Linked DNA regions of Homo sapiens: all the other regions are linked to region 1. The links are contacts of gene promoters, found by promoter capture Hi-C in blood cells and fetal thymus (Javierre and others, 2016). All regions are on one chromosome and are shown on one strand. The core of a region is centred on a gene start or on the middle of the fragment in contact, and the rest is flanking DNA. Distances in the headings are between cores, read along the strand shown.

The links. The method cuts DNA at HindIII sites, captures the fragments that hold promoters and counts their contacts. A CHiCAGO score of 5 or more calls a contact.
Region 2: a fragment that was not itself captured here is called in contact with the fragment with the promoter of BRD7 in region 1 in 2 of 17 cell types (naive CD8 T cells and total CD8 T cells); the score reaches 6.7 in naive CD8 T cells.
Region 3: a fragment that was not itself captured here is called in contact with the fragment with the promoter of BRD7 in region 1 in 8 of 17 cell types (naive CD4 T cells, naive CD8 T cells, activated CD4 T cells and 5 more); the score reaches 17.2 in naive CD4 T cells.
Region 4: a fragment that was not itself captured here is called in contact with the fragment with the promoter of BRD7 in region 1 in 11 of 17 cell types (total CD4 T cells, naive CD4 T cells, naive CD8 T cells and 8 more); the score reaches 20.0 in total CD4 T cells.
Region 5: a contact is called between a fragment that was not itself captured here and the fragment with the promoter of BRD7 in region 1, in 16 of 17 cell types (naive CD8 T cells, neutrophils, total CD4 T cells and 13 more). The highest score is 34.4, in naive CD8 T cells.
Region 6: a contact is called between a fragment that was not itself captured here and the fragment with the promoter of BRD7 in region 1, in 11 of 17 cell types (naive CD8 T cells, total CD8 T cells, total CD4 T cells and 8 more). The highest score is 21.7, in naive CD8 T cells.
Region 7: a fragment that was not itself captured here is called in contact with the fragment with the promoter of BRD7 in region 1 in 15 of 17 cell types (naive CD8 T cells, non-activated CD4 T cells, total CD8 T cells and 12 more); the score reaches 31.9 in naive CD8 T cells.

The regions. Positions count from the first base shown.
Region 1 is chr16:50,367,272-50,370,719 of GRCh38, forward strand. BRD7 (bromodomain containing 7) reads right to left here and starts at 1,717. Exons shown (of 17, transcript NM_013263.5): 1 at 1,455-1,717; 2 at 819-1,027. The coding sequence starts at 1,503. RefSeq lists silencers at 1,106-1,615, 1,646-1,895. The HindIII fragment of the contact is 8,339 bases long and covers 1-2,625 here.
Region 2 is chr16:50,124,708-50,128,155 of GRCh38, forward strand. No RefSeq gene overlaps it. Among named protein-coding and RNA genes, the nearest start is that of TENT4B, 27 kb to the right of the region's middle. The HindIII fragment of the contact is 7,368 bases long and covers 1-3,448 here.
Region 3 is chr16:50,595,749-50,599,196 of GRCh38, forward strand. All of the region lies in intron 3 of NKD1 (NKD inhibitor of Wnt signaling pathway 1), which reads left to right. Among named protein-coding and RNA genes, the nearest start is that of NKD1-AS1, 16 kb to the right of the region's middle. RefSeq lists an enhancer at 2,232-2,732. The HindIII fragment of the contact is 7,124 bases long and covers 1-3,448 here.
Region 4 is chr16:50,579,315-50,582,762 of GRCh38, forward strand. The region is part of intron 3 of NKD1 (NKD inhibitor of Wnt signaling pathway 1); the gene reads left to right. Among named protein-coding and RNA genes, the nearest start is that of NKD1-AS1, 33 kb to the right of the region's middle. The HindIII fragment of the contact is 865 bases long and covers 1,215-2,079 here.
Region 5 is chr16:50,156,368-50,159,815 of GRCh38, forward strand. All of the region lies in intron 1 of TENT4B (terminal nucleotidyltransferase 4B), which reads left to right. Among named protein-coding and RNA genes, the nearest start is that of TENT4B, 4.8 kb to the left of the region's middle. The HindIII fragment of the contact is 5,097 bases long and covers 1-3,448 here.
Region 6 is chr16:50,186,348-50,189,795 of GRCh38, forward strand. All of the region lies in intron 1 of TENT4B (terminal nucleotidyltransferase 4B), which reads left to right. Among named protein-coding and RNA genes, the nearest start is that of TENT4B, 35 kb to the left of the region's middle. The HindIII fragment of the contact is 1,959 bases long and covers 842-2,800 here.
Region 7 is chr16:50,540,632-50,544,079 of GRCh38, forward strand. No RefSeq gene overlaps it. Among named protein-coding and RNA genes, the nearest start is that of NKD1, 6.0 kb to the right of the region's middle. The HindIII fragment of the contact is 1,439 bases long and covers 811-2,249 here.

The DNA of each region.
Region 1 (3,448 bases), core at 467-2,966:
GAGTGCAGTGGTATGATCATACCTCACTGTACCTCAAACTCCTGGGCTCAAGGGATCCTCCCACCTCAGCCTCCTGAATAGCTGGGACACAGGTGCACACCACCAGGCTCTGGAAATTTTTGTAGTTTATTTTGCAGAGGCAGGGCCTTGCTATGTTGCCCAGGCTGGTCTCGAACTTCCAGCCTCAAGCAATCCTCCCACCTCGGCATTCCAAAGTGTTGGGATTACAAGTGTGGGCTACTGGGCCCAGCCATTAATTATTATTTTGCCCAGCTTTCAAACCAAGATGGTAGCTACTCATTCTTTTCTGTTAAATGCAAATGGTTAAGAATATCAATCTCCATTACAGGTTTCTGACCAAATTTTCTCAACACACTACAACACTGTTTTAAAAGATTTAAAGTTGCTCATTACAGATTTGGCATTATAATATTTATTTCAGAACAAACTTTAAACCCCAGTAGATCCCACTCGCTTCTGAAATGACTATTTTTGACAATCCTTGAACACTGAGGCTTTCTTGAGCATGACTTTTTACCCTGCCTAGATGGAAAAACCATTCTTTGAAGCAGCTCCTCAAAATTTGGACTTAGCTGCTTCCTCACCTGATGTGCGAGTACAATTGCCTAAGAGTATAATCCAAAAACGACTTGCTGAAACTCATAGATGATTCATGTCTCTATTCTGTCCTGCTCCTCCTCAAACGAGCCAGATCTTAGAGGCGTTTGTTTTCCCCAGATACAAAGAAAATAAAATGAGGTTGGCACCTGGAAGAGGCAGTGCCGTCCGCAAAGCCAAAGCAATGTAACCACTTGTACCTTAACTCTTCTCCGTTTTCTCCCCTTTTCTTCCCCTGGAATCTGCTTCTCTCCTTTCTTTCTCTTTTTCCGCTTTCTGTCCTTGTGTTTGTCATGATCGTTTTTGTCTTCGAAGAGGCTGGAGTCGTGCCCCGAGCTGCCCGTGGAGAGTTCGGTGACTTCGTTCCCTCCTACTTTGAGGACCAGCTTCAAGGGCTTCTCTACATACTCTTAAAAAAAGAAAAGAAAAGAAAGGAAAGCGCGTCGATTAAAATCGGGGCTCTCCAGGGAGTGCTAAGGATGCAGAGCGCCAAGGCGCAGCAAGCCCGAGGCGGCTTTGGGCGCTCCGCGAAGCACCTGTTGAATGACGGACCCCGGCCCGGGGGTGCGGCGGCGCCGCCCGCCCCGAACGCTCCCAGGCCTCCCGGGCCCGCCTCACGTCTCCCCACCAGAGACCCACCGGACCAGGGGGACCCGGGTTCGAATGCCGCGGCCGCACGGGGGGCAGCGCGGCCTCCGGCAGGACGCGCCCCCTTCGCCGGCCTGGGCCTGCCGTGGGAAGGAAGGGCCCCGGGCCGCCCCGGAGCCACTGGGAAAGAGCGGAAGCCCGGCAGAGCCGCCGAGGGCCCGCCGCCCGCACCCCGGCCCCCTCCTCACCCTCGTAGAGGTGTTTGTCCGACTTGTGCTTCTTGTGCTTCTTGCCCATGTCCGACCGGGCCCCGGTGCCCGCCCCCCGCGCCAGGCCCAGGCCGTGCGGCGCCGCTTCCGGTCCGGGCCAGGCGAGCGGAGGGCGGGAGCGGGGCCCGCGAGACCCCGCGCCGCGAGGCAGGGGGGCGGCGCGCGCCGGGCGGCGCGATGCCCCTCTCGAGAAGACGGCGCGCGAGACCCGGCCGGAGCCCGAGAGCGGCGGCGGGGGGGGCGCGCGGCCGGCGCAGAGGCGGGAAAGAAGGCCCGCCGCGCGCACAGGGTGCCGGCGGCTGCGGGTGGCGGCCCCTGGCGACCGGAGGTGGTGCTGCAGCTCGCGGGCCGGGGGCGGGGCCGAGGGCGGGGCCGGGGCGGGATCCACCGCTCAGACTCTCGTCTTTCTTCCTTCCTCCCTTTCCCCTCAATTTGTCTGTCTTGTCTCTGTCTCTGTGTGTCTCTCCCTCCGTCTCCACTTCCCTCCCTTCTTTTTACTCCCTCCCTCTCTTTCTTTCTCTTTCCCTTCTTCCCTTCCTTCCTCCTTCCTTCCTTTCTTTCTTCCCTCCTTACTGCCTCCCTTCAAGCCTTCCTTCTCTCTTTTCTTCCTCCCTCATCACCCTTCCTTCTCCTCTTCCCGTCTCCTTCCCTCTTTTTTTCTTTTCTTTTTTTCCCCTTCCTCCTTCCCCCACTCTTCCTTTCTTTCCACTTTCCCTTGCTTCTGTTTCTTCCCTTTTACGATATTGACTGAACCCCATACTGGGTGCCAGACCCAGCAAACTCAGCACATTGGTGACTGAAGATTCTAATCTTAAAAAAAACTTATGTGCTGATAGGTGAAGGTTACCAGACGTTTTGACTGTCTTTACTTCTAGCTGTATGGTGCTTTGTCTGTTTTCAGATAAGCTCGTAATTATAGTCTCCTCTTAAGAAAGGATCTGTTATCAGTCATTTATACTTTAGTAACAATTTAGACCCATGAATCACCTCTCCCAGGAAGATTTGTAGCTTTACCTTGAACTTCAGTGGTGAAATTATAGGCTTATATTTTAGGACCCTATTGTTGGCAACTAATAGAAACCAATTTGAATTATTTCAAGTAAATAAAAAGGGATTTATTGGTTTACATGTCTAGAAAGGGCAAGAATAAAGCTTGCCAGAGGGAAGACAGGAACCAAGGATGTAATGCTGTTGACTGGCATGCCAGCTCGCTCTCTCTCTTGTCTCTCTGTATATCGGTCTCCATCTCCCCCCTTCTTTCCTATATGGCTGGAAACATGGCCACCATCTGCTTCTGAGGCCTCTTCTTTATAGTGTCCTGACCAACTGGGAAAAAGATCTCTTCCTGTCAGCTTCACCTGGAAAACAGTCCCAGGGAAGGACTCTGATTGGCTTGGCTTGTGTCACATGTTTTATGGGACAGGGGATGGGAGATTGATTCGGCCTGGATGCCAAATCTACCCCCTCACCCCCTTGGCCAAGAGAAGTGGAGTCTGTGATTGGCAGCTCCTGCCAGACTTCTATGGTTAGCCAGGGAAGATGAGGTTCTTCTAATGAAGAGAGTTGCTTTTTCATGAAAGCTAAAAGTGTGTGTCTATTATTTCCCTGTAACAAGCCTCTCTGGTGTCCGTGAGGCAGAGATCAGGGTGTGGGAAGAGGGGTTGTGTTGGGGAAGAGACCTTCTGCTGCTCTGAAATCAAGCCAGCTAGGCCCCCTAGGCCCCCTAAGCATAGGGCAAAGCTTGGTTTCAGCTTTTCATCCACTGTCTGTAACTTATTTTGCTTTAAGAACCACTATGCCAACTCCCACTGTGGGTCTGGCCTCTATTGTGGCATTGCCTTGCTCCAGGCTCAACCTGTGGGTTTACCTGTCTGCTCCTCATTACCCTGGGTACCTCCTTGGTACTTACAGTGCCTAGCACAGTGACTACTACTGTCCAAATGCCCCTCAGAGGAAAAAGGTCTGGTGAACTC
Region 2 (3,448 bases), core at 479-2,978, 240 kb before region 1:
GCACCTGGCCTGCCCAGCTAATCTTTAATAAACTTTTTATAGAAACAGGGTCTCACTGTGTTGCCCAGGCTGGTCTTGTACTCCTGGCCTCAAGTGATCCTCCCACCTCAGTATCCCAAAGGGTTGGGATTGCAGGAAGGAGCCGCTGTGCCTGGTCAAGACTGAGTCTTATAAAGCAACATAATCATGGGAATCATATCCTATCACTTTGTCACATGCTATTGGTTAGATGCAAATCACAGGTCCCACCCACACTGAAGGAGAGGGAATTACATAAAGACTTGAGCAGCAGGAAGTGGGGATCATGGGAGAGGAGACTATCTTAAAGTCAGTCTGCCTTGCAAACCAAGCTCCTGTTCCCATGGAGCTTACGTTCTAGTAGGGGAAACAGACAACCAATGAATAGGCAAATAAGTGCATGCTGGGTGCTAAAAATAAGTGCTAAAGCCAAACAGTAAATTTGGGTAAATGGAGCAGATGTAAAGGAGTGTTACTGTAGAAGACAGCAGTCAGGGAAGGCCTCTGGGGCAGCAACATTTGAGCAGAGACCTGAAGGAAATGAGGAAGGCACAGAGATTACTGGGAAAAGAGGCACCAGCCTCCAATGAGCATGTGCACAGGCCCTGCCAAGTGAGCATGCTGGAGGGTTCTGTAACAATGCAGAGACCCATGTGGCTGCAGCACAGTGATCCAGTAGCAGGATGCAAGGCTAGAGAGGAGATGGGGTTGGACCAGATAGGGCCTTGCAGCCGTGTTAAGGATCTGAGTGTGATACAAAGACATTAGGAAACATGGGGCAGAGGAGAAACACTGGCTTTCCATTGCAAAGGATCACTTTGATCCTGGGATAAGAACAGATGGATGAGAGGCATGGCTGGAAGGAGAGAAACCAGTCTTAATCATTTCAGCGAGAAACACTAGTAGTTTGGACCCAAGTGGTGCATTTCCTGGAAAGTAGGCAGCTGTCATCTAAAGGAAGAGCCTGCAGCATCAATGGTAGGTTGGATGTGTGGTGAGAGTGAAGAAAACGTTAAGGGTGATGCCAAGGATTTTGGCCTGAGTCACTTGAAGGATGGGGTCATCATTTATTGAAATGCAGAAGACAGTGAGAGAAATGGGTTCGAACAGAAAAAAAATCTGGAGTTTGATTTGTTTCTTTTTGTATTTTTTCTGGGAGACAAATTGTTACTTACACTTGTTAGCGGATTCTGACTTCCATGCCTACCATCCTGCTTAGAGTTTGATTTTATTATGTGCTGTAAGCAAAGTGACGTTGTCATTCTTTTTTTTTTTTTTTTTTTTTTTTGGAGACAGGGTCTTGCTCTGCTCTGTCATCCACACTGCAGTGCAGTGGTGTGAACACAGCTCACTGAAGCCTCGATTTCCTGGGCTCAAGAGATTCCCCAGCCTTGGCCTCGCAAAATGTTGGGATTACAGGCGGAGGAGGTTCCAAGCGTTGATGTGGATGATTCCAGACCAACAGTTGGAAAGATATGCAGTAGCCTAGACAAGAACTAGGCAAGTAGGGTTGGGGTAGAGGCTTCCAGCATGTCCTGGAGATATAATACGGAAGGTCTGGGGTTTTTTGAATGTAGGAGGATCAGGAAGGTCATACTTGTCTCCTAGGCACAAAGCAGAAGGTGACTGTCAAAACAAAACAGGAACAATAGTAAAACTGGGTTCTAGAAAAGAGCCTTGGAAACTTCTTTTGTGACCAAGTAACTCTTTTTCGAGAAGGCCTGGACTGTGTTTCAAGCTATGTAGGCGCTGCTAAGAGAACATTCTGGAGTACAGTGTTGACATTTAGTAAGGGCCTTTGTCTTTTTATTTCTTTTCTTTTTTTCATGCTATTCTGACAGAAGAGCCTTTGTCCGCCGGATGCGGTGGTTCACACCTGTAATCTCAGCACTTTGGGAGGCCGCGGTGGGCAGATCACGAGGTCAGGAGATCAAGACCATGCTGGCTAACATGGTAAAACCCCATCTCTACTAAAAATACAAAAATTGGCTGGGCGTGGTGGCGTGTGCCTGTAATCCCAGCTACTTGGGAGGCTGAGGCAAGAGAATCACTTGAACTAGGGAGCCGGAGGTTGCAGTGAGCTAAGATTGTGCCACTGCAATCCAGCCTGGCAACAGAGCGAGACTCTGTCTCAAAAAAAAAAAAAAAAAAAAAAGAGCCTTAGTCTTTCAAAACAGAAATTTGCATGGTTGGATTGTTTAATGACAGAAGAGGTAGCAAATGTCAGTGAGCACCTTCTCCTTTATCCATAGACTACATTGCAGGGGTGAGTTAAAAAGAAAGGGTAACATGGGGCCAGGCACGGTGGCTCACACTTGTAATCCCAGCACTTTGGGAGGCTGAGGTCAGAGTTCAAGACCAGCCTGGCCAACATGGTGAAACTCCATCTCTACTAAAAATACAAAAAATTAGCTGGGCGTGGTTGAGGGCACCTGTAATCCCAGCTATATGGGAGGCTGAGGCAGAAGAATGATGTGAACCCAGGAGGCAGAGGTTGCAGTGAGCCGAGATCATTCCACTGCACTCCAGCCTGAGTGACGGAGCGAGACTCCATCTCAAAAAAAAAAAAAAAAAAAAAAAAAAAAAACGTAAAATGCACAGCACTGCTAGGGTGTTGCATCTTGTTTGAGTTTCTGGGCTTTCTCTCCACTAGAGTGGCCGCCCAGAGACCAACACTTGCTTTGCGTACCTCTGGCCAAGGGCGCTACTTCCTCTAGTAACAAGAAAGATGATGGGAGGATGGGAGGAGCTGCCTCCATGGCCTTGTGAAAACCTGAATCTGAAAAATGTCTGAATTTGTTAAAGACCAGTCCAAAAATTTGAGAAAATGAACTCATTCTGGGAGTGGGTTTTTTCCACTCTCATTAGGCTGAGCTACCAATTCTTTTTGGGGGCCTTAGTGCCTGCCATGGTCAAGTTCTATAGAAACACCACTCAACACAGAGTTACCCAGAAAAGGCAAAGCTATCAAGATAGAAAGTAGATTAGTGGCTGCCTAGGGCTCAAGTGGGTAAAGGAGTGACTGCAAATGAACCTTAAAGATCTTTCTGGGGACGGAGGTATTTTAAAGTTGGAATGTGGTGATGATTGCACAGCTCTGTACATTCACTAAAAATTATTGAATTGTACACTTAAGATGGGTGAATGTCACAGTATGTAAATTAAAATAAATCTCTTTTAAAAAATATTTAATCAGCCAGGCGCAGTGACTCATGCCTGTAACCCCAGCACTTGGGGAGGCCAAGGCGGGCTGATCACTTGAGCTCAGGAGTTTGAGACCAGCCTGACTAACATAGTGAAACCCTGTCTGCACCAAAAATACAAAAATTAGCAGGGCGTGGTGGTGTGCCCCTATAGTCCCAGCTACTAGGGAGGCTGAGGTGGGAGGATCACTTGAGCCTGGGAGGCAGAGGTTGCAGTGAGCCAAAAT
Region 3 (3,448 bases), core at 662-3,161, 230 kb after region 1:
GCCCAAGAGTGGCCTCAAACCTTCCATGCTGACCATACGGACTCTCCCAGACCTCACTGGCTTCCCAGGTGACCACCCTGTGGTGACACGGGCCCCTGATGTGGGCTGTTGACTGGACCTGCAGGGGCAGGCAGTGGCCTTCTAGATCCCCATACTTTTTGCTTTGAGATCTTTGGTTGCCTGAGAATGGCAACAGCAAAATTTGGTGTGTGCTGGTTGGGATGGGCAGGAGAGAGTGCCACCCTGCTCCCCCTGAGCCCCCGATGACAGCCTGGCTTGCATGCTCAGCTGGTCTCATGCCATTTCTGGAATCAAAGCGCTGTCTGCATTACACAGCCCCTGGCTTCCTATGCATGTACAGTGAGAGCAGTGAGAAGCAGGCATGGGTGTGGCTGTGGCCTCTTTGTGGCCTGGGTGCACTGTGTGGCTGTGGAAGGGAGCAATGGGGTCTGGGTGGACCAAAGTCTGGAGTCTCCACCTTCCCTCCCAGCTGGAATCAGGAGGCCACCCATTTCACCAGAATGCTGTAGGTCTTGCCACTGCTAGGGCCAAGACCCTTTTAGCAGACTTCTGAGTGTGAGTCTTTCTAGAACCAACTTGGGTGCCCATTTTTGTATGTTTTAGCATTTTTTTTTTCCTTCAAAACACTTTGCTGTAATTTCTGATTGTAGAAGTAATCATGTGTGTTCATGGAAGACCATTGGGTGACCTGGAATCCAGCACCGGGCACCATTTCTGGGAGCATTTTGGTGCCCGTCTCTGCAGACGTGTGCCTCCTACTACAGCGCGTGGAAACACGTGCAGATAATGTTAGGAAATGTAATCACATTTTCTCTGCTGTTTGGCAACTACTTTTTTCTTTCAAGAAAATGCAGGGCGTGTTTTTCTGAGTCAGTAAATACAGAGCTGCATTTGGTGGTTCAACACACGCTGGTCGAGTGCCTCCGCCGTCAGGCGTTGATACATAATGTGTCAGATGGTGGGAATGCCCCAGAGATAAATAAGGGATTGTGGGAGAGGGGGCTGCAGTTTTAAATAAAGAGATTTGGGAAGACCTCACCTAGGTGACAAGGTGATAATGAACCCAAACCTGAAGGAGGGGCAGGAGGGAGGGGTTATCCAGAGGAAGAGTCTTCCGGGTAGAGGGAACAGCGTGTGTGAAGACCCTGAATGGGGAATGAGCTGAACCTGTTGGAGAAACAGCAAGGACGCCTGTGTGGCTGTGGGCGAGCGGGTGAATGGGGAGGAACAGAAGGGGTGAGGGAGGTGATAGGGCAGACAAATTGGGTGGGGCTTTGATGGGCTTTGGTGGGACTTTGGGGAATTGGGTAGGGGTTGGGGTGGCGACGAGGGCAGAGAATAGAAAATGGTTGTCATTATTCAAGAGGACTGTGGCCTGGAATGCGTGGCAGAAGTGGAGGAGGTGGCAATGATTGGTTTCAGGGTGTGTTTTGAGGGAGAGCCAACAGGATGTGCGGAAGCCTCTGGGGTGTCTGGCCAGAGTGAAGGAAGCAGGGAGCTGCCCTGTGTACACAGGGAAGGCACTGGGGAGGACAGGTTTGGGGGCCGCCAGGCGTCCGGTTTGGACACATGAAGTTTGAGGTGCCTGTTGAGCAACTTGGTGACATCAAACAGGAGGGAGAGCCACATCATTTGTTTTAATGGAAAAACCGCTTTGGAAAAAGTTATTATTATTTTTTTCAGTATAAAAGGGTTGAATGTTCTTGGTTTAAAAAGAGAGAATATAAATATAAAATTCAAATCACCCAGAAAATCAGACAGCTGAAGGAGACAGCGCCCCAGTTCCCATTTCTGAAGTGGAGCGTGGCCTTCCAGAAACATTCTGGAAAACGCACCTTTTTGTTTATCAACAGCACAGGAGCGGACTAGGCTGCTCCTCAGCAGCTTCCTATCTGACAGCACTGTGGACCCTGGGCCCTCATTCCCAAATGGCCCCTCTCACCTTCTCGGCTTTTCCACACCCACCTTTGGTGTGATCATCGTGCACTGCTGCGTGGCAGGCGGGTGGGATTGGTGCCCTCATTTTATAGATGTGGCCACTGAGGCTTTCGATCACAGCCCTGGCAGCATGCGAACTGCTGAGTTTCAGAATGAACCGAGTCCTCTGGAAGCCGCCAGTGTGACCCTCTTGATTATGTCCTCATCTGGTGGTTGGGGATGGTGGGAAGTCGAAATCCACAGTGGCTCCGGAGGAGGCAAAAGACTTCACTGGCAGTAGAGGGAGGAGGGCGCTCCGGGTGAAGGGGACAGGATGGTCCAGGGCTGGGAGGCTCCAAGTGGGCGGTCTGGCCTGTGAGAGGGATGGTGACAAGTTTCTTAGAGCTATTTTGGGGACAAGGGGACAGAAGGGGCCAGGAGATGAGAGTGGGAGGCCCAGGGCTGATGGGATCAGAGTGGGTAGGAGCATGGCTTCTGCAAGATGGTTTCTCCAGGGCACTGCAGGGCCGCATGGGTGGACTCTGTGTGTGTGTGTGTGTGTGTGTGTGTGTGTGTGCGCGCACACCTGTGCTCATGGACACTCTTGTCCTGTCCGTAAAATGAGGCCTCAGGGTATAGGAATCAAGAGGCTCTTACTTCATCTGTTTCGTTTAGGTTCAGAAAAGCAAGAAGCTCAAGCCCTTCATTCCTGAGGCTGAGCAAGAAATTCCAGGCTTCTTGGGTCCCCAAGCCCCTTCCCTGGGCAGGAGCACACATCCTTTCCCCACAGTGAGGTGGCCTATGGCTATGGGGCACCCTTCCTTGGGGCCAGATGACAGTGCTGCCTGTCATAAGCAGCCTGGCTCAGGGCCACCCTGTCGGCAGGTCACACGTGCTAGACCCTGGCAGCAGACCGGGGGCCTGTCCCAGGGCCAGGAACTGCTGGCAGATGCCGCCCCAGCTGCTTGGTGATCAGAGGCACGCCACAGGCCCTCGGGCCTCTCCTCTTATCAGCACTCGGCTGTGTGGCGTGGCGGGCCAGTGGCTGGGCTAGTCAGCAGTGTGGCAGGTGGTGGCATGGTGGGGCCAGTGGTGTGGTGGGCAGTGGTGTGGCAGGATCAGTGGTGCGATGTGCAGTGGCATGGTAGAGTCAGTGGTGCAATGTTCAGTGGTGTGGCGGGCAGTGGTGGGGCAGGATCAGTGGTGTGGTGGGGTCAGTGGTGTGGTGGGCAGTGGTGGGGCAGGATCAGTGGTGTGGTGGGGTCAGTGGTGTGGTGGGCAGTGGCTTAGAGAGGTCAGTGGTGGGTGGGAAGGCCGTGTGTGTGTGGTCAGCAGTGGGTGGGAGGGCAGAGACTCCGACAAGCGCTGAGTGCACTCTCTCTGCTCTCTGCAGCCGGCCAGAAGTGGGGTCGCCTGAGGCCTTCTGGGGTGATGAGGCAGTGCTGGGCTGGGCTTTGATCCGCTGTGGCATCCCTGACAAAAACCAGGGCAGAAGAGAGCATGTGAGGGA
Region 4 (3,448 bases), core at 397-2,896, 210 kb after region 1:
TACACACGCACTCTAACCCACCACGCATGCACTGTCTTACTCCTGCGGGCTACCCGCTACACACGCACTCTAACCAGCCACACATGCACTGTCTTAGTCCTGCGGGCTACCCGCTACACACGCACTCTAACCCGCCACGCATGCACTGTCTTAGTCCTGCGGGCTACCCGCTACACACGCACTCTAACCCGCCACGCATGCACTGTCTTACTCCTGCGGGGTACCCACTACACACGCACTCTAACCCGCCACGCATGCACTGTCTTAGTCCTGCGGGCTACCCGCTACACACGCACTCTAACCCGCCACGCATGCACTGTCTTACTCCTGCGGGGTACCCGCTACACACGCACTCTAACCCGCCACGCATGCACTGTCTTACTCCTGCGGGCTACCCGCTACACACGCACTCTAACCCGCCACGCATGCACTGTCTTACTCCTGCGGGCTACCCGCTACACACGCACTCTAACCCGCCACACATGCACTGTCTTACTCCTGTGGGCTGCCTGCTACACATGCACTCTAACCTGCCATGCATGCACTCTCTTAGTCTCCTGGGCTACCTGCTACACACGCACTCTAACTCGCCACACATGCACTGTTTTGGTCCCACGGACTACCTGCTACACATGCACTCTCTTGGTCCCATGGGTACCTGCTGCACACGCACCCTAACCTGCTACACACATGCACTCTCTCAGTCCCACAGGCTACCAGCTACACACGCACTGTCTTGGTCCCACCGGCTAGTCGCTACACATGCACTCTAACCCACTAAGCATGCACCCCAACCCGCTACACATGCACTCTCTCAGTCCCGTGGACTATGTCTTCCTTTGCTGGCCTCTCCAGGTGGGCTTTCTGTTTTTAGTTTTGATTTGAGAATGAATTCTATTTCTGAAAAGGACCTTAGGGAGTGTTGTCATGACACCATGATGGATCCCCTTGATGGACTGGCCATTCTGGCCTCACACTGTGTGCTCACCCCTTCCCACACATGCCAGGGCCTGCCCAAGGAGAGGCGAGGGCCCAGTGCTTAGAGCGGTGCCTTAGCAAAGGCAAAGTCTGCGTCTTTGGGAGGCCCTCAATGCAACTGGCATAATAGCAGGTACACGCAGGGAATGCAGTACACACGCTCAGTGAATGCAAGAGAAAGCACTCAAGAGAATAAGGGTACTCAAACCCTTGTCAAAGGGTTCCCTGGCCAGAGAAGCTTGGGAAACGGGTGGCAGCACCAGTCGAATGAGCGTTACTCTGTCATTTTTGGCAGAAATTGCAACCTGGTGAGCTGACTCTAGCTCCCAGGAATGTTTTGTTTGACCCTTTCAATTTTTTAAACAATTTGAGCCAACATTTAAAAATGAGGAATTTCACTCAGAACTCCAGATTTCTGACTTCTTTTTAAAAATTGGAAAAGCTAATATCATTGGCATCAACCTCTTAGCCTGGCAATATTCAAGTGGAGCTGAATGTGGCTGTGCTCTTGGACAGGGCCTGTGTCCCCCAGAGCCCCTGCAGTGCCCACCAACCCTGTTTCTCATTTTTCTCTCTGTTTTTTTCATCATTGCCTTTGCACATTGGTTTTCTATAGAACTATATTGCTTTTAAATAAATGTTTCTATTTCTCTCATAGGAAACAATTGCTATCAAAGATGGAAGAGAAAAGATGAACCAAAATGGTTGTTTTCTGAAAAATTAGAGCATATTTCTTCATGGAGATGAAGAGTGTTTCCATATGCCTTTTATGCAAATATTAAACCTGCCCCCATTTAACTTATTTAAATAACTTAGCTCCTTAGCTCCTATGGGATTGGGGCTTGCGGTATCTGCCCTGTACTGATGTATTGCTTACCAGGGACAATATTTCCTAAATATATTATCCCACTGGAGATTCTGGGGAAAAAAAGATTCTTTGCAAAATTAGTGTTGTGAAACAATTGCTGCAACTACCCATTAAATAAGTTCCTTAACTGCAGGAATTCTCAGAGCCTTCACTGTCTTAATGTGCATTGTGAATCTGGAATATGGAGTTTTCGTATTACTCAGGATTCCTTCAGTTTAGGGACCAGTTTCCCAAGCTTCTCTGGCCAGGGAGTCCTTTGGCAAACAGTGCTGCAGGGTTTTGAGTGCTCTCATTCTCTCGGGTGCTTTCTCTTGCATTCACTCAGCATGTCTATTGCATTCCTGCCTGTACCTGCTATTATGTCAGAGGCATCGAGGGCTTCCCAAAGATGCAGACTTTCCCTTTGCTAAGGCTTTGCCTTCTGCCAGCTCCTATTGCTTTGTGGGACCCCTGCCACTTACTCAGAGGCACCTCGGATGGAGAGAACTGGCTAAACAGCAAGTGTCTGCTATCTGTGGTGGATTTGAGGCCCTGAGTACTTTTGGGGCTTCCACAGAGCTGGTGATTTATTTTTCTGATCCAGGATGATGAGGTGCTGTCTTGTAGCAGCTCTCAGTGGCTGTTAGCTTACAGAGGAGTGGGACCTGGGGAGGGCAGAATTGTGTGTGTAGGCATGCGTGCCCTTTATTGCTGTTAGCCTTGATTTGGAAAGGGCAGGGTGGTTCAGGAGGCAGAGAGCATGTTGCTGATTGCTCAGAGCAAAGGATTTTGTGTCCAGGATCTGAGTGTTGCAAGGATTGGTTGTTTGGGGCTGCTGGGGTGGAAGGGATTGCCTTGTTGATCTCTGGAAGCTGTGTGTAGTTCTTGCCCAGTAATGCGTTTGTCTCTTTGCCCAGCCATCGTAAGGCAGCTCATGGACCAGATGCCAGCCTTGATCTGCTGAGCTCTCTGGGATGTTTCTGAGAAGGCCAGAGTGCATTGCCCGCCCAAGGATGTCTCACCTAATTAGTCCATTAGAGTCAGTGGGCCTCAGATCATGAATCTGGAGCTGTTTGCTAATTATGCCTTGAACGTGGTTTTAGTTAGATGATTAAGGACTCTCGCAGGGCTGTCCTCCCTACAGCAGTCCCTCAGGTCTGTGCCTAGAGCCCCAGCCAAAATGAGATTCAAAATGCCCTGAGAGAGAGCTGCCCCCTCCCACATATCCTAAAGTGGACCCTCCCAGGGGAGTCTGGATCTTGCAGGTGCCCATTTTTAGACTGAGGTATTTGCAAAGAATGTGGTTGCCTCATACCTTCCAGACATCCCTGTGTATGTGCAGGGAGAGGAACATTGCCATTCAGTGGTCATCCCACACATTCATTCATTCTGGAATGGCACCTTGGGGCACTCTCGTGACACAGCAGGGATTCTGGGGTTCCAAGGCTGCTACCTTTGTCTTGATGTTCATCCACGAATTATCTGTGGTTCTGCTGGGAATACACCATTTGTTTACTCAATGCATATGCTGCAGACCCATCCCAGGCCTGCTGCCCAGTGTGCATTGGGGTAAAAATGCATTATTGTGGCCAGGCGCAGTGGCGCACGCCTGTAATCCTAGCA
Region 5 (3,448 bases), core at 620-3,119, 210 kb before region 1:
GAGTTTCGCTCTTGTTGCCCAGGCTGGAGTGCAGTGGCTCGATCTCAGCTCACCGCAACCTCTGCCTCCCAGGTTCAAGCGATTCTGCTGCCTCAGCCTCCCGAGTAGCTGGGATTACAGGCGCTTGCCACCACGCCTGGCTAATTTTTTATTTTTAGTAGAGACGGGGTTTCTTCATGTTGGTCAGGCTGGTCTCGAACTCCTGACCTCAGGTGATCTGCCCGTCTTGGCCTCCCAAAGGACTGGGATTACAGGCATGAGCCACCGTGCCCGGCCTCATTATCCTGATTTCTTTTTTTTCTTTTGAGACTGGGTCTCACTCTGCTGCCTAGGCTGGAGTGGAGTGACGTGATCATAGCTCACTGTATCCTCTAACTCTTGGGCTCAAGTGATCCTCCTGCCTTAGCTTCCTGGAGTAGCTGGGACTACAGGCACATGTCACCACACCTGCCTAATTTTTTTATTTTTACTTTTTGTAGAGATGGGGCCTCCATTTGTTGCCTAGGCTGGTCTTCAACCGGCCTCAAGCAGTCCTCCCACCTTGGCCTCACAGAGTGCTGGGATTATAGGCATGAGCCACCATTCTCGCCAGTATCCTTATTTCTTAACTTTAGAAAGTTTTTCTATTTTTAATATAGGTATTTAAAAAAATCTGAATTCAGAGTGCACCTCGATGTTATGCTGTTCTGAGATTAAATATACTAAAACTGTTACCATTGTTTTCTGAATTCTTAAGATGTGACTGATAGTTAGCTAATAGGTTAACACATTGTGGTGGTTCTTGGCCTCTGAACTGATAGTCCAGATGGGGAGAGGAGACCAGAAAGCATGTGAAAATGGACTAGAACCATGGGACAGCTATATAGTCTCTCGCAGCTGTCTTTTGTGTTCTCTGCTTCCACCAAATTGGTTGATTTATTTAGAATGCTGACCTCTTGCATTGCCTAAGTCCTTGATGTTTTTGGTTTCTCCTCTGAACTCTCAAAGGTACTCACTTCATGCTCTTGGTATAGCCCACTTATGTTTAACTTTCCTTTTATTATGTGTTCCCTCTTACACATGACATGGACATTTCTTTAATATGTAGAGTAAGATATTGGATTTCATCCTAAAGTCTTCAAAATAAAACTCTTGAGCTCATCATCTCAGACTTCTTCATGTACCCACAGACCAGGGATTTTGTTTGCTTTTTAAAACATTTTTTTATTTTGTGTTTTATTATTTTTAAATTTTAATTTAATTTTATGGAGACAGGGTCTCGCTCTGTTGCCCAGGCTGGAGTGCAGTGGTGTGATCTCGGCTCACTGCAGCCTTTGCCTGGGCTCAAGCCATCCACATGCCTTGGCCTCCCAGTGTGCTGGGATTACAGGTGTGAGCCACTGTGCCTGGCCTAAATTTATTTTTTTAATTTTTTTTGAGACAGGGTCTTGCTCTGTCGCTCAGGCTGGAGTGCAGTGTCATAATCATGGGTCACAGCAGCCTTGGCCTCCCAGGCTGAAGTGAACTTCCCACCTCAGCCTCCTGAGTAGTTGGGACTACAGGCGAGTGCCACCATGCCTGGCTCATTTTGGTTTTTTTTGTAAAGATGGGGTCTTGTCATGTTGCCCATGAAGGTCTCCAACTCCTGGTCCAAGTGATCCTCCCGCCTCCGCCTAGCAAAATGTTGGGATTACAGGTGTGAGCCACCATGCCTGGCCTTATTTATTTATTTAATTATGAATGAATGAATGAATTAATGAGAGGGAGTCTTGCTCTCTTGCCCAGGCTGGAGTGTGGTGGCACAATCTTGGCCCACTGCAACCTCCGTCTCCCAGGTTCGAGCAATTCTCCTGCCTCAGCCTCCCGAGTAACTGGGATTACAGGCGCCCGCCACCATGCCCAGGTAATTTTTGTATTTTTAGTAGAGATGGGGTCTCACCATGTTGGCCAGACTGGTTTCGAACTTCTGACCTCAAGTGATCTGCCCACCTTGGCTTCCCAAAGTGTCAGGATTACAGGCATGAGCCACCATGCCTGGCCTGGCCTTTTATGTTTTAAGTTGCTTCCACTGATTCTCTTGGGCTTTGCTCCCCTCCAGAACTGGCCATGGTTTAGGATGCTGTCCACCTGCTGCTGCTTGTCCATGAAAACGAGCCATAAACCCTTTTCTTTTGAAAGACTTAATTGTTTATCACTATGGAGAAAGAGGGGATGGCAAGAAGTAGCAAATACAGGGAATTTGCAGAACTTGGTCTTGAGCCCTGGGTCCAGAAACTTCTTCTGGAAGGTGCTTGGTGTTTGTCCAAGCTCATGATAGGTTTCTGTTGGCTGTACTGCCAGATCTGTAGATGCTTTTTTAAGGCTTGGATGACTTGTTCAAAACAATGTTTTGGAGTACAAATTTGGCTGTGGGGACATCAAGACCTTGTTGGGAAACTTGGGTTTAAGGTACAATTTCTTAAACTAGGATGGTGGGAATGGGGATGTGAAGGGAGAATGAATGTGAGAGGTATTACAGGGTAAGGATGGAGATGATTCAGATTCCTTAAGTGGATTTAATAATCACACTGTAGCTTTGAACTTGAGTGACTGGGGAAATATTTGTGGTGTTTTTGGAAATAAGGGCCAGAAGGACTATTGGTTTGGGTAAGAAGATAGTAGGGGGATGTATAGGTGGACCTGCTAGTGGGGAGCTGAGATTTGGAGGGCTGAGATGTAGTGCTCTTCACTGCCGTAGGGCAGTATCCTCTTGTATGTGCCATCCTCTAGTGCCCATTGTTCATCATGTCATAGTAAGCCCAAGATGTTCATGCCTTTTTTCAGCACTGCATTAGGGCTTATATCTGCTTCTCTTTCTCTCTCTCTCTCGCTCTCGCTCCCTCCCTCTCTCTCTCTTTCTGTTTTTTTTTTTTTTTTAGACGGAGTTTCACTTGTGTTGCCCAGGTTGGAGTGCAGTGGCGCGATCTTGGCTCATTGCAACCTCTGACTCCCGGGTTCAAGCAATTCTCCTGCCTCAGCCTCCCAAGTAGCTGGGATTACAGGCATGTGCCACCATGCCTAATTTTGTATCTTTAGTAGAGATGGGGTTTCTCCATGTTGGTCAGGCTGGTGTCAAACTCCCAACATCAGGTGATCTACCTGCCTCGGCCGCCCAAAGTGCTGGGATTACAGGCATGAGCCACCGCGCCCGGCCTCTCTCTGCTTATTTCTACACAGTGTTACCAATGAGATTGGTGTTACTGCTGGGCTCCAAAGCAATCAGACAGATTAAAGTAGATTGAATATGAAAGAATTTAGAGGCCTTTTTCCAAGTGATTTGTGCTCTATTTAATTTCTGTGCATTTGCAGATATAGCCCACAGTAATTCTTAGTGAACTAGAACCTTCAGGTTATTGAATTTTACTGATTTGGGTACTGACATGCGCTTTTAAGAAGACATTAGGTTTTCTATAGTGTAGATTGTACACTA
Region 6 (3,448 bases), core at 571-3,070, 180 kb before region 1:
ATTATGTTCCTGGCTTTCATCATCTAGCAGGCTGATTCCAAGGTTTGTCCATGTGGTAGCTTGTATCACTTTAATGTTTTTAGAGATAGTTAATATTACATTGTTTATATATACCACATTTTGTTTTTTCATTCAACCTTGATGGACATTTGAATTGTTTCCCCCTTTACCTGTTGTGAATAATGCTGCCGTGAACATTGATAACCAAATATTTGTTTGAATCTCTGATTTCAGTTCTTTTGGTTCCATACCTAGGAGTGGAATTGCTGGATCATATGATAATTCTATGTTTAACTCTTTGAGGGATGGCCAGACTTTTCCACCATAGCTAAATCATTTTACCTTCCCACAAGCAAAGTTCAAGGGCTCCAGTCTCTCCCCATAAGGTCCTTTGCACTTTTTTTTTTGAGACGGAATCTCACTCTGTTGCCCAGGCTGGAGAACAGTGGCACCATCTTGCCTGACCTCAAGTGGCACCTGCCTTGGCCTCCCAAAGTGCTAGGATTGTAGGCGTGGGCCACTGCACTCTGCCAATTTTTTAATTTTTATTTTCATTTATTTTTCTTTTTTTAATTTTTAATTTTTTTATTTTTTGAAGGGATAAGGTCTCACTTTGTTGCCCAGGCTGGTCTTGAACTCCTGGCTTCAAGCAATCCTCCTACCTCGGCTTCTCAGAGTGCTGAGATTATAGGTGTAAGCCCCTGCACATGGCCTTTACTCTCTTGATAGTGTCCTTTGATGCACAAAAGCTTTCAATTTTGATGAAGTTTATTTTTTATCTTGTTACCTGTACATTTGGTGTCATATATCTAAGAGACCATTGCCAAATGCAGTGTCATGAAGCTTTCCCTCAGTGTTTTCTTTCTGCAGTTTTATGATTTTAGCTCCTAAGTTTAGGTCTTTGATCCATTTTGAGTTAATTTTTGTATACAGTTTGAGAGTCACACTTGAGGCTCTGGGCGCAGTGGCTCACGCCTGTAATCCCACTACTTGGGGAGGCCGAGGCGGATGGATCACCTGAGGTCAGGAGTTTGAGACCAGCCTGGCCAACATGCCGAAACCCTGTCTCTACTAAAAATACAAAAATTAGCCAGGCATGGTGATGCATACCTGTGGTCCCAGCTACTTGGGAGGCTGAGGCAGGAGAATTGCTTGAACACAGGAGGCGGAGGTTGCAGTGAGCCGAGATTGTGCCACTGCACTCCAGCCTGGGCGACAGAGCGAGACTCCATCGTGCGGGGTGGGGGGTAAAAGTCAAACTTGAGTCTTTTGCCTGTGGATATCCAGTTTTCCCATCACTATTTGTTGAAAAGACTATCCTTTCTCAACTGTGAATGGTCTTGGTACCCTAGCTGAAGTTATTTTTATTATTATGTTACTTAGGAATGCACATAAGGCCTGGCACGGTGGCTCATGCTTGTAATTGCAGCACTTTGAGAGGTCAAGGTGGGAGGATTCCTTGAGCCGAGGAGTTTGAGACCAGCCTGGGCAATATAGCAGCAAGACCCCATCTCTATATTTTAAAAAAAGAAGAAAAAAAAACCTCTGATGCATAAAATATTTAAACTTGTATGCATTCTTTTCTTTCTTTATTTTTTAAAAATTGAGACAGCAGCTTACTCTGTTGTCCAGGCTGGTCTTGAACTCCTGGGCTCAAGCAGTTCCTCTCACCTTGGCCTGCAGTGCTGAGATGACAGGTGTGAACCACTACACCTGGCCTGCTTACAGATTATAAAAAGAAAATAAGTTTACAAGTTAAAGACAGATAAAATGACAAAATCAGTAAAATTAAAATTACTTTTATGGAGCCGATGATGTTTATTCCAGTTGCTCCTCTCATTGTGAATATGGTATTGTTGCTGTGGCAGATTTGGAGGCCGTGGCAGATTTGGAGGCTTTGGCAATGGCTTCTGTTACCTTGCCATGAGGTAACTCAGTTCCCTCATCACTTTTCTCTGAGAACTATAAAACCTTGGAGGGGTGCCTTCTGCCCTTCGCTTGGCATGTATATTATGCAGGGATCAGGTCTTACTCCGTTCTTGATTGTTAGTACAAATTAGTTAAAATTGTATTGTTTGGCCTTAGCCTGATGGTAAACACAACAGCACACGTGGGCTGTGAAATCTCTGGGCAGCTCTGTGTTTCTAGGGAAGCATCTCGATGATCCAGAACAGGCTTATACTAATGTTTTAGTGTAATTTTGAAATGAAAACACAGCATTTAAAAATTCTTATAGAGAATGTATAGACCTTGAGAAGTGTTAGCAGACCCAGTTTACGACATGTCTCAATATTATGAAACATTGCTTTATTCCCTATCCTGCTTGTACATTTAATTTTTTCATCCAGTTTTAAACAACTTGGGTACTGTGGCCTGTGCCTGTATTCCCAGCTACTAGGGAGGCTGAGGCAGGAGGATTGCTTGAGCACAGGACTTTGAGGGCTGTAGTGAGCTGTGATTGTGCCTGTGAATAGCCATTGTGCTCCAGCCTGGGCAACATAGCAAGACCCTGATACCTTGGGTTTTTAAAAAACAAAACAAGATACATGCTGACATTTCTGGTTTGGCAGGCAGAGCTTGTTCTGCTCCCCACCCTCCCTTTTCCCATAGTAACCATTTATAGGACATCTCACTGTTGTCTACTCTGTGTTGCCTCTGCTTCCCTGCGTGGTAGATCTAGGAATCTTAGGATTTCTTAGTTTTAGCTGGTGATCCGTATCTTTTTCTTAATTCCATTGTAACTTCAGCTTTTCTTATTGCTTGTAGGAAGGCTGTTTCCATTGAATACAAACAAAATAAAAGCTTTTATTCTTAATCTTAGAGATAGGATGTTTGTATTTAAAAATAATTGTGCTGTCAAAATTCTGTCAAGTTGGCTTTTACCACATTAGTTTTTTTTAATGTGGTTTATATGACCCTGGAGTACCTTGTCTTCTCACTGTTAAATTCTCAACTGAGTTGTCCCTATTTAAAGTGTGAGACTGTGCCAGTTTGATTTTAAAATATTGCAAGTGCGTTATGGCAAGATAAAACTGCAAAGAAAGAACCTTCATGTCCCTTTGATTATAAATGCTTTTGGCACTTGTTTCTACTTTTTCCTAATGTTTTTTGAGGAAAGAACCTCCAACTCTCCAGACAGGTCTGGGGGCAAATGACTAAAACATGAACTGAGGCCCTGGGCTGTCTCTGTGAGGATATCCCCTCTATTCTCTCTGAAATGTCCCAGCATGTGGTGCATTTCTTGTTAGTGTGGACTCCTCTGTATATAACACATCTTATTTATCTTCTGTGCATAACATGAAGTAGTGCCCTAATGCAATTCCAGGATGTAATTCAGCATTTCTATAAAAATACAGTGTTTTTCTACATTTGCATCAAAAAATAACCAGATAATTATATTTATTAAGAAAATAGCATTTTTGGCTGGGTGTGGTAGCTCACGTAATCC
Region 7 (3,448 bases), core at 280-2,779, 170 kb after region 1:
AGCTCCATCCTTGGAGTTGCTTAGGCCCCGCATCTTGGCGGCTTCCTTAGTTTCTCTGTTTCTCTCCCACTCCACGTCCAATACATTTGCTAATGCTGTTGCCTCTAATTTCAAAATACATTCAGCGTCCAACTTCTTTTACCTCCTCCACTGCCATCACCTGGTCTAAGTCGCCATCATCTCAGGCCTGGCGCCCCACCATAGCCCTGTGACCCACACTTATTCTCAACACAGCAGCCCAGTTGCTCTGGTTACTACTCTCTCTTTTTTTGAGACAGGGTCTCACTCTGTTGCCCAGGCTTGAGTGCAGTGGTGCAGTCTCAGCTCACTGCAACCTCTGCCTCCTGGGCTCCAGCAATCCTCCCACCTCAGCCTCCCTAGTAGCTTGGAATACAGACATGCATCACCATACCTGGCTACTTTTTAAAATTATTTTTTGTGGAGACAGGATTTTGTCATGTTACCCAGGCTGGCCTCAATCTTCTGGTTGCAAGGGATCAACCCACCTCAGCTTCCCAAAGTGCTGGGATTACAGGCATGAGCCACCATGCCCAGCCACAACTCTCTTCTAGTAACTCCTGTCTTTCTCCAGGAAAGCTGAAGTTTTTGATGAGACCTATAAGGGTCTCATGATCTGTCCCCGTCACCTCCAACCTCATCTTCTCCCCAATACTCCCAAACTGTGGTCTCTCTGCTCCAGAGCCGGGGGCCTCTTTGCTGTTTCCAAAACATTCCTGGCATATCCTTACCTCAGGCCCTTTGCACATGCTGTTCCCTCTGTTTCTTCCTCATTTTCAAGTCTTTGCACAAAGCTTATCCTCTCTGACCTGTCTATCTAAAATCATTAGCTCCTGCCCTGGTATTTTTTCTTTCTCTTTATCACTTGAATTTTTTCTCCCATAGACACACCACATATTTCACTGACTTATGTATTTATTGTCTGTCTTCCTCTATGAGAATATAAACTTCATGAGGATGGCATTTTTGTCTGTTTTGTGGACACAAGAGCCTGATGTAAATTAGGCGCCCAACAAATCTTCACTGAATGACATGATAAATAAAAGAGAAGCACCCACCTTTATTTCTTGGTTGCCTCCTCCCTGACTTTGGCCTCTCCATCTCCTCCCCAGCATGGCTGCTTATGCGAGGCAAGGGCAAGCTATGTAACCTTGGTTGCTTCTGAGAAGGCTTAACTTTCTAGAGCCTCCAACTGTGTGTGGTCTATACACCAGCACCATCAGCCTCACCTGGGAGCTGGTGAGAAATGACTCTCAGGCTCCACTCACACTGCATCTCAACAAGATCCCGGTGAATTCATATGCACATTAAATTCCAGGGAGCCCTCCTCTAGGCTATTTGACCCTAGCTCAAGAAAGGGGGATTAAGAGTCTTACAGGGAGGGATCCAAGGTCAGCATATACAGTTAGTCAGGGACCAGTCTGTCTGTGTCTCTCTCTCCATGGGGTTTACTATCATTGCTTTCCCCTAATGGTTCTTACTCCTGCTTCTTCCTGCTTATTTTTCAGCCCACAGCGACCCCAAGAAGCTGCTCCAACCCCTGGGACTATGGAGCTCTACAGCTGTAGAGACCACCAGGAAGTGGACTGCAGGCCCCTGGCCTCTCCATTCAGATTCTGCAAAGAGATCCTGATGGGTTGGGCCAATGGGTCAGGCATCCAGTCAGCTCTGGCTAAGGGGTGAAGGAGTCAGGTGTTACCAACGTGGTGGCAGGGGCCACCTTGAAGCTGTGTTCTGTGCCATGGAAGAAGGAAGAGGAGGAGGAAGCTAAGCTGGAAGGGAAGGCAGGTGATACAGGAAAATTAACTATGAGCTTTGCTATAGTGACCACTTTTCCTTCACTCCTTGAGCTGTGGCCTTAAGAACTGTGTACCAATGGGAGGCACTTGCATAGTAAGTGTTCATTTGCTGAATACTTACAGAGGGCTATAAGTGGACAAATATGTCCAAAAACACATGAAACACACACCATCAACACTTGCAGATGGTCTCCTTCAGGGAACCTTTCCACACTGGCTCTCCCCTCACTGAGCTTTCCTTCCTATCACCCTCCCAGTCTAGGCTCCTGGAGTCAGTAGTTGGAATCTCAGATGGGAAGAAACCTTAAAAGTCATCTGGTCCAGTATTTTCCAAAGCATGTTCCATGAACTTGTTTTCCAGAAATGGTTTCCTGGTCTGGTGAGTTTAAGAAACCCTGCTTATGACGATGCTCTCCATTTAGAGAATCACAAAGCTTGGCTACTCAATGAAAGCTCTGACAAGTCCTGCAGGAAAAAACTTGTCTTCTTTTGGCTAAGCTAGGGCTGCCCAAAGTTTCTCATGGAGTCCTTTCTTGCACATAATAATAGCATCTCACAAACCAGTGGTCGGGGGAACCCATTACGGGAAATGCTAATCTTCTGGACCCTTCCTTCTATTTTATAGGTGGAGAGGCTGTGTGGTGGTCTGGTTGGCTGCATGTAACTGAAAAACAAAGGCTTAAAAAGATAGGGGCTTCTTTTGCTCTTTTGTTAACAAAGTCTGGGAATAGTCAAAGACTGGTACTGTGACTAGAAAGGCTTCTGATATGGTTTGGCTCTGTGTTCCCACCCAAATCTCACCTTGAGTTGTAATGATCCCCATATGTCAAGGGCAGGATCAGGTGGAGGTAATTGAATCATGAGGGCAGTTAATCCCATGCTGTTCTTGTGATAGTGAGTTCTCACAGGATCTGATGGTTTTATAAGGGGCTTTTCCCCTTTGCTCGGCACCTCTCTCTCCTGCTGCTATGTGAAGAGGGACGTGTTTGCTTCTCCTTCTGTCATGATTGTAAGTTTCCTGAGGCCTCCCCAGCCATGTAGAACTGTGAGTCAATTAAACCTCTTTCCTTTATAAATTGCCCAGTTCCGGTATGTTCTTGTAGCAGCCTGAGAACGGACTAATATAGCTTCTCTGCCCAGTGTGAAGAAGAGCAGAGAGGCAGGGCTGGGAGGAGAACAAGGCACCTGCCAAGGAGATGGGGAGGCTGGGCTGGCTTTCCCTCTCCTCCAGGCTCACCTGGGAAGCCTGTGCTCTAAACTTGCTCAAACATCCTGAACCCAGGAGGAGTTGGTGGTACACAAATTCAATTCAATTCAACCCCACATCCAGACTGTACTCAAGCAGCAGTCTTTTGGCCCAGTCATCTCCAACCTCATCTTCTCCCCTCTACTCCCAAACCATGCTCTCTCTGCTCCAGAGCCAGGGGCCTCTTTGCTGTTTCCAAAACATCCATGGCAGTCTCCACTTCAGGGCCTTTACATGTGCTGTTCCCTCTGCCTTTAGTACCCAAACAGAATGGCTTGGAGACCCCAGCCCTAGTTCTTGGGGAAGCCCAGCCTCCTCCATCTCATATCTAAGGCCTGAGGCCTCCTGGCTGCCTCTGGCTCCCATCTTTTCTCCTGCAGGGTAT